Regions from separate parts of the Homo sapiens genome. Here region 1 is linked to region 2. Evidence: promoter capture Hi-C in human tissues and cell types (Jung and others, 2019). All regions are on one chromosome and are shown on one strand. The core of a region is centred on a gene start or on the middle of the fragment in contact, and the rest is flanking DNA. Distances in the headings are between cores, read along the strand shown.

The links. The method cuts DNA at HindIII sites, captures the fragments that hold promoters and counts their contacts. A contact is called where the count stands out against the background at its distance.
Region 1: a fragment that was not itself captured here is called in contact with the fragment with the promoter of CLRN1 in region 2 in 2 of the 25 tissues and cell types used here (H1 embryonic stem cells and adrenal gland).

The regions. Positions count from the first base shown.
Region 1 is chr3:151,076,196-151,080,229 of GRCh38, reverse strand. It overlaps CLRN1-AS1 (CLRN1 antisense RNA 1), which reads right to left. Exons shown (of 6, transcript NR_024066.2): 6 at 1-1,341. It overlaps LOC124909448 (a long non-coding RNA gene), which reads left to right and starts at 2,860. Exons shown (of 2, transcript XR_007096133.1): 1 at 2,860-3,024. The HindIII fragment of the contact is 5,315 bases long and covers 1-4,034 here.
Region 2 is chr3:150,971,107-150,975,374 of GRCh38, reverse strand. It overlaps CLRN1 (clarin 1), which reads left to right and starts at 2,648. Exons shown (of 3, transcript NM_174878.3): 1 at 2,648-2,919. The coding sequence starts at 2,667. CLRN1-AS1 (CLRN1 antisense RNA 1) reads right to left here and starts at 2,697. Exons shown (of 6, transcript NR_024066.2): 1 at 2,282-2,697. The HindIII fragment of the contact is 11,205 bases long and covers 1-4,268 here.

The DNA of each region.
Region 1 (4,034 bases), core at 1,180-3,679, 110 kb before region 2:
ATTAAAAGAACAAAAAGTAATGACAGAAGTAAAACAAGAGAGGCTGTGTGTGGTGGCTCATGCCTGTAATCCCAGCACTTTGGGAGGCCAAGGAGGGCGGATCACCTGAGGTTAGGAGTTCAAGTCCAGCCCGGCCAACATGGTGAAACCCCGTCTCTACTGAAAATACAAAACTTAGTCAGGTATGGGGGTGCACACCTGTAATTCCAGCTACTCATTAGGCTGAGGCAGGAGAACTGCTTGAACCCGGGAGGTGGAGGTTGCAATGAGCCGAGATTGCGCCACTGCATTCCCGCCTGGGTGACAGAGCAAGACTCCATTTCAAAAAAAGAAAGAAATAAATAAAACAAGAGAAAGGTAAAGAAGAAAAGTAAAGGCAACTTGGGGAAGACAGTAGATACCCAAACAGTGCTTAGTTGCTAGACAGATGGAAACTTCAGGGGGCAAAGGACACAGAAAGGAAAATCTGGGGATTTAAAATCAGAGGGTAAAATAAGAGAGTTTTAAATTACAAAGCCGAACCAATGACAAGGCTAAAGATTTAACCTCATTCACTAGCAAAATGGTGTCTGCTACATTTACAAAATGAAGGCTGACTGGTTGGTTTCTGGAGAACGAAGGGGGCCACACAAACTTAGGTCACTGTTAATATCATGGTCACATACTCAGCTTTTCAGCACCAGAATCTTATTTTGTCAGCTGACCCAGAGTGGTTCAATCTCTACAAGGCTCAACACACTCAAGAGTTCTGGCTTCTCAATACAAAGAAATACCCCTTTCCAGAGACTGAAAAACATATATCCTCTTATTCAGATCACCTCCTTTCTAAAGTTTGTTGTAAAACAAAGTTAGCAAGCAGAAATTTGGTGACCATGAAATTAGAGCAAAAGGAATTGGATAATCTCCTACGAGCAGTCACACAGACTGTCCCACAGTAGAATTCATCTCCCTTATGACATGAATAGGATAGATGTCACACTGTGGCCCATCGGTCCCATTGGTGGATATACAGACAGGTTATTATTGTTCAATGCCTTTATTATTTACTTCATACCAGAGGTTCTTGGTGGTCCACAAATATTTGTTTGGATTGCTTTGGGCTTGCACAGTCACTTCTGGACTCTCTAGGAAAGTCTGCCTACACTGGGTCCACCTTTTCCAATGACACCAATCTGTTGGAGCTGAGAAGGGTCTGCCCCTTTGAGTGTGCTATGTTGTCACAGCCCCAACTGACCAGCTTCACTCAGAGGGCTGGCTAACCAGTTGAGATCCTACATCTTGAAAGAGTGAGATCCCTACTATACGGAGACCTCTGCTAAGCAGGCCTGGCTTCAGACTTTCCTGTTGGGAAAGGAGAGAGAGAGAGATTACTTTTCAGTTATACAATAATTGATTATGTTACTACTTTTTTATTGTTAACCAGTTAAGGATCCAGTCTTTATCATCAGTTAGTTTCAGATTGTAACTAACCTGTTAGGATGGGTTACATCTGATGAAAATTATAATCTGATAACTATTCATTATGAGATATTTCGGTTCTCAGAGAAATATTTTTCTCCAAGTTCTAGGGACATCCTCTTATACTTTCTTATCTATCTGCTGCAGTCACACAGAGCAAGAAAGCGTGGAAAATATATTAGATGGCAGAATCTGTATAGTAAACAAAATATCTTGATGGATTAAAATGATGAACTAAATGTAACAGGGTCAAATTTTATATAAGAATAAATTCTTTTTTCCCCTCTCTACTGGATATATCTAAGACTGTTTGGTACCTACTGTTTGCTAAATCTAAAGTTTAAATTCTAAGCAGTAAAAAATAAACGCTGCCAACACTTTGCTCTCAGTAGCATTTGGGGAATAGTGCACAAATCAATTACATGGATCCTTTATATAATAGTATTTTTTATTAGTATTGTTAAAACATTGCCCAACATTCTCACCACTATGCCTCTTCCCAGGGCTGTTAACAAATAGGAGAGAAAGGAAAACACCTCTTGGCTACAGTTGTGGTATGCGGAACTGCAGAGTGAATATAAAAATTGTCTCGGAGAGGATGTTGCAAACCAAGATGGAGAAATGTGTCAGATCAGCAAAGGAGCCTGGAGAAGTTAGGGTCTCCTGACCCCTGGAACCTCAGCCACCTGGTCCAGTTTTGCTAACAGGAAGCAGGGGCCAGCTGGGAGTGTGGTGATGAGCAAAATAGACATTAAGTTCAAGTTGGGGCATCTTGAGTACGAAGAGACAAAGGGAGTCCTTTCTGAGCAGTAGTAAATGGAGGCTATAGAGGCTGTGACAGCTAGACTGAAACAGAAGATGAGAGTAGAGACTGGCTGAGTAAGGATGAGAGCAGAGAGGAAGAAGAGCTGAGAACCAAGTTGTCATCAAGACGGATCAAGGCTTGTGTGTAGGAGGCAGGCAATTGGCTTGCCCTGCAGAATGGTTGGCTTTTTGCCCATTGCCAAGGTACATAATGAACGCGAGGACCCCCCATTAGATGACAGCACCAACAGTGGATGGGGGGAGGTAGGGCAGAATAGCTGAATGGCATAAGATCAAAGGAGAATGGTTTTTAACAAGACAGTGAAATATAATGTGGGGGAGTGAAGCAGACACTGTGGCAGACACTGCTTGTTCTCTGCCCGATATCTTTATCTTTATCCCTTTTCTTCCTTAGTAACGAAATCTTGAATTTGTTCTGGGGTACAATATGCCAGCTAAATACACCTACCTTCCTAGATTACCTTACATCTAGGGATGGCCATGTGGCACACTTCTAGCCAATGAGACATAAGCTTAACTTCTCTAGGGATTCTGAGAATGTTTTTCTTTCCTGATGCAGGCAACACCCTTTAGCTCCTTTTCTCTTCTCGCCTGGAATTTAGTCATGAAGTCTAGACTACAATGGCCATATTGTGACCAAGAAGTTAGAAATATGGTATGAGGAAAAGGCAAGACAACCCCAGAGATGAGCCCTGATTTCAAGTGGCCACTGAACCAATACCAACAGCCATCTACAACCAGGTATCTGGTTATGTGAAGAATGAGCCCTACTTAATGAAACCAGTGTTAGTGACTTTTCTATTATTCATAATGTAATATATTCCCCATAGATATTAACCCACCTGGTTGAACTGAAATACAAAGGTAAGAGGGGTGCAGGAAAAGCAGTGCTCCAAGGGAAGAGGCCAGCTTTCCCAAGGTAGGAGGAAGGAGGTGAGAGTGTTAGAAAAGAAACTGTATAGGTATGGCAATTTGCTAGCTATGGGGAAAGGATTCAAGAGGCCAGAGTGGAAGAGAATGAAAAGGAGATAAGGGATGGAAGCCTGGGGCAGAAAGACGTGCAAAGCTTCATGAGGACGATAGCGTGGAAGTGGATCAGTTGACTATGTGGGCATAGGGGTAGAGGCTACACTTTGAACCTAGACCAGCATGAACAGAAGTGAGATCCATGGAAGATTTGGTCTCCAAGTCTCTTTGAGGTCAGAAACCTTGTTATCTTCGCAGAGGGATTACCAGGTTGCACCAGTGGAACCATCATCTTTCCACATCCTTGGTTAGGAAAAAAAGGAGAAATGTCATCCCTTTCAGCTCTCTAGAGAATCCATGTGCAGGTTTAAAGCTGAATAATGAAACCTGGCAATTTATCTGGATTCCCTTTAAATCTCTCTGGGGTCAGAAATAGAAGCAACCTGAAGGAGGCGGGGAGGAACTGAAGGCCACAGGGCCTGCTAGGGCAGGATGAGGGAGGCATTTTGCTCTCTTTTCTGGTAATTGGCCCACAAGGGCTGTTGTCTCCCCAAGGAGGCTAGTGTTCCCCTCCCTAAGTCCTTAGTCCCAAAGCAGAGTGACAGCCGTGAGCCTGCTAGATCATCCATGTTGCCATAGCAACAGGCTTGCCCTTGGAGCAGTGGGTTCATGACAAAATGATCAGCCCTCTCTTAAAGGTTGTTGCTGTGTGTTGGACCAAGAATGCAGGCCAGGTGGGTGGGTATGAAGGCCTGGAGCCAAGAATATTCAGGGTAGGAATTTTT
Region 2 (4,268 bases), core at 1,399-3,898:
AGTAACTCAGTATGTTGTATTTATTTTTCCCATGTCTCTACAGACGAGTGAACATGTCGCTACAGACTGATGCAAACTGATGCAACTGATGTGATCTAATTGCTCTCTACACCCATAATCAAGGCTTTCCTCCTTGGACAGCTTTAGATATACTTGGCTGAGTTTGGGTTAATTAAACCGCTGTCCTATGCTAACTATCCTTCTCTTGCCATATCCTTTAGTAGAGGTTATTAATAGTATTGATTAAGTTGTAGGTGATTTCTTCTCCCAGGCTTTGGAAATGTTCTGTCTCTTCCAATTACAGAATATGTTGATTTAGTAAGCTCAGCTCTGCTTAGACATCTTAAACTAAGTTTTCTAGGGTGACTGTGGCACATATATGCCCAAATAACCACTTATCAGGGGCACTGGCACCCCCTTGTTTTGCTAGTGGACCATGATAGCGATTATTCTAAATCCAGTGGTGAATTCATTGGAGGGCCAAATAAACTGAGATGAGTTGCTTATTCTGTGTTCTAGCAATTATTCTAAATCCAGTGGTGAATTCATTGGAAGGCCAAATAAACTGGGATGAGTTGCTTATTCTGTGTTAAGTTATACAAAATAAAAAAGACTTACTAATATTGTAAACTTTATTTTAAGTGCCTCTTTGGAATCTTCTATATGCCCAGTTCTTCTGTGGCCATGTTTTATATTGCCCCTCTTCTCCCCGAAGGTACATTGGCATTCTAGAATGAGTTCTATACTTAGTTGTCTGTCCTTAACGAGACTGGCTGTTGCGACTCCTAGGAGAGGCGAGCTGTGAGAGAAGTTTACCAGTACTCCGAGTCTATACCTCAAAGTTCCCTTCGAAGTGTGCATAATGTAGAGACTCATTTATGCTGAAAATGGTGTGAAATAAGTCTTCATTTATTAATTTCCTCTAAGCTGTCATGCTTAAAGGTGGATCAAAAGAATAGAAGCTAGCATACACATGTGCTTTTGGCCAACTGAAAAAGTTCTATTTACTGATGTCTGTGTTCTTCAAACACTCAATATGTGTAACTAATAATGGGCTAGTCTGCCCCTGTTACTCCTAGACGAACCCAACCCAAACTGAAATGTTTGCCATCTTTTCAAGGTCAGGGGCTTTGCTTGGAATAGAACATCAACCTCAGAAGTAGAAGACCTGGATTTGAATCCCAGCTCCACTACTCTCTTCAGCAAGTTGCTTAAACTCTCTGAGCCTCAATTCCCTTATATATAAGATACGAATAATTGCTTTTTCTTCTTCTTTCTTCTTTCTTATTCTTCTTCCTTCTTCCTTTCTCCTCCTCCTCCTCCTTCTTCTCCTCCTCCCTCCTCTTCTTCTTCCTCTTCTTCATTACTTTATATGCTAATTATGAGAATTACATATGATAATTTAGGTAGAATACTTCACAAGTTGCCAGACATAAGTTCTTACTAAACATTAACTTTGTAGGTCAGAGCTCAGGACAATAACATGGCATATAATAAACATTCACTAGACACTTCACACACACACACACACACACACACACACACACACACACACACACAGTCCTGTGTCTGTAGAAGGAGGAATCTCATTGGAAATGCAAAGTTAAAAAGCTGTTACTGAATTCTGAACTTTAGTTTCCAGGTCTTGACCGTTTAACCAGACCTACCTGCTGCTTAATCTTTGCTCATAACTGTCTCTAGTCTCCCAAACAGATTACCTTTGCTGAGACCTGTGCATTTTTATGATGAATCCATAGAGTCACCTATCTGACCACCATCCCTCTTTCCATCAATATGCCCTTATCTTTACAGATCCTGGTATTCCTTGGACCCAGAAACACATTCCCTTGCTATTATCCTAAAGCAGCTAAGCCTGTTAAAGGAAAGCATTTAGAAATCTAGATATCTGCTCCTGCATTTTCATATTTCTGTATGCCAAGAAAAATTTGAATCAAATTCTCTATTGATACATTAGGTATAAACCATGGATCTGGGAGAAATTAAGTTGGAAGGACAAGGACCCATGGTTGATCCAGAGCACTTAATATTCGTGTAGGACCAAATTCTGTTTAATATTTTTATCCTGCTGTAATTAAAAATTTTTGACATCAACTATCAATACAGGTACATATGTTCTCCCTACCTCTGCTAAAGCTCCTTCCCCCACCACCAAAAACAATAACAAACAAAAAACAAAAATAAAAACATCGATAAGTGAACTTCTCAAGTTGCTGAAAATGTACCATCAGATTCAAGCCTGTTTCTGAAAGTTTCAACTCACCCAATCAGACAAAAGGCTGAGGAAGGGAAACATTTATCAAGTTACACTGAGGACTCCATCTGTTATCTTCGACCTTTGTTACCAAGTGACACAGAGGAGATACTTGAAGGCAGTTTGAAAGACTTGTTTTACAGATTCTTAGTCCAAAGATTTCCAATTAGGGAGAAGAAGCAGCAGAAAAGGAGAAAAGCCAAGTATGAGTGATGATGAGGCCTTCATCTACTGACATTTAACCTGGCGAGAACCGTCGATGGTGAAGTTGCCTTTTCAGCTGGGAGCTGTCCGTTCAGCTTCCGTAATAAATGCAGTCAAAGAGGCAGTCCCTTCCCATTGCTCACAAAGGTCTTGTTTTTGAACCTCGCCCTCACAGAAGCCGTTTCTCATCATGCCAAGCCAACAGAAGAAAATCATTTTTTGCATGGCCGGAGTGTTCAGTTTTGCATGTGCCCTCGGAGTTGTGACAGCCTTGGGGACACCGTTGTGGATCAAAGCCACTGTCCTCTGCAAAACGGGAGCTCTGCTCGTCAATGCCTCAGGGCAGGAGCTGGACAAGTTTATGGGTGAAATGCAGTACGGGCTTTTCCACGGAGAGGGTGTGAGGCAGTGTGGGTTGGGAGCAAGGCCCTTTCGGTTCTCATGTAAGTAGCAATTGCATTTGAGTTATTTAATGCTTTAGGCAGACTCTTCCCAGTGTTGCGAGGAATTATATTTGAGAATTTTGCCGTGTTTACTGCAGGACTTTTTAAATCGGTGTGAACCATATGAAAAACCTATGACTCTGAGCAATTTCTTCTTCCTAGTTTTTATTATTTTATACTTGCTTTTTATTATAATATAGAGTTAATTCATTGTTACATAATTAAGGTTTTTGGAAATATTGGCAATTAAGATGCTTAAGTATTAATATTTATGTAAAAAATTATGGAGTCTTTTTAAAAAAGTAAACTTGGGGAAATAGGAAAGCTGTAAAGAATGATCTTTATGCTTTTTGTTCTTTATAAAAAGAACCAAGGTCATGGGCTCCGTATTTAACCAGGTTGCCACCTTTCTCATGATTTTGTTTCCTGCTCCCCACTCCCTCCCATTATTCCTGCTAAGACCTTTCCTGCTGCTAAATATTCAGTTTTCATTTTTAACTAATTTGGAATCATTTGGCTATAGAAATTTAAAATGATCTGCTGTGCTAACTGGGAAAGAAATGGATGCCTATTTAGTATAGAACATTTTAAACTGATTGACCTGCAAATCATGTAGAGAATATGAGAGAGATTTTCTTGTTGTGATTTTTGTGAAATGGAAGTGTAATCCACAGTATTTATAACCTGTTTATCTTAAGAAGAGAATTTTTAAAAATTACCATGTGAATAGGCAACTCATTAAATGAAAATTAATAGGAAGTCATTTGTTATATCTCTTACAACACACATTCAGAAGTTATTATTATTTCAGAAGGGCTGGTTTGGAACAACCTTATGAAGACACAGTCAGTAAATTACTGCATAAATCACTCTTCAGGAAAGGAGGTTACCAACTGAAGCATTTAAAATGAATTATTATTTTGCCCAGGTTTTTTTTTTCTTTCTAGTATAGGTAGAAGGCTAAATTAATTGAATTTATTATTAACATATGCAGTGCCTAATTAAATTTCAGTGCTGGTCTATTTATATTTCTGCAACATTCCTTATATCTTCTTAGCAGTCATTGGACACCAACCTTCAGCTCACATAGGTTACTAAGTGATATGAATTTTCATAGGGCTCCAGAAAATTTCCAAGAATTGGTTGTTAGCTTTTTAATTGATGAAGTGGATACCAGTTCTTTTCACTGAATGGCTTTTATTCATTAAGGTAATGGGGCTGTTAGAGTTGCTTAGTTTTCCTGGGGAAGGGGAAGGAAGAAAACAAAGCAGAATGTCATGTGATATGCAACTGTATTAAAAAACCGAAAAGGAAAAAAGTTGAGAGAGATGATTTAACCGTGAGTCACC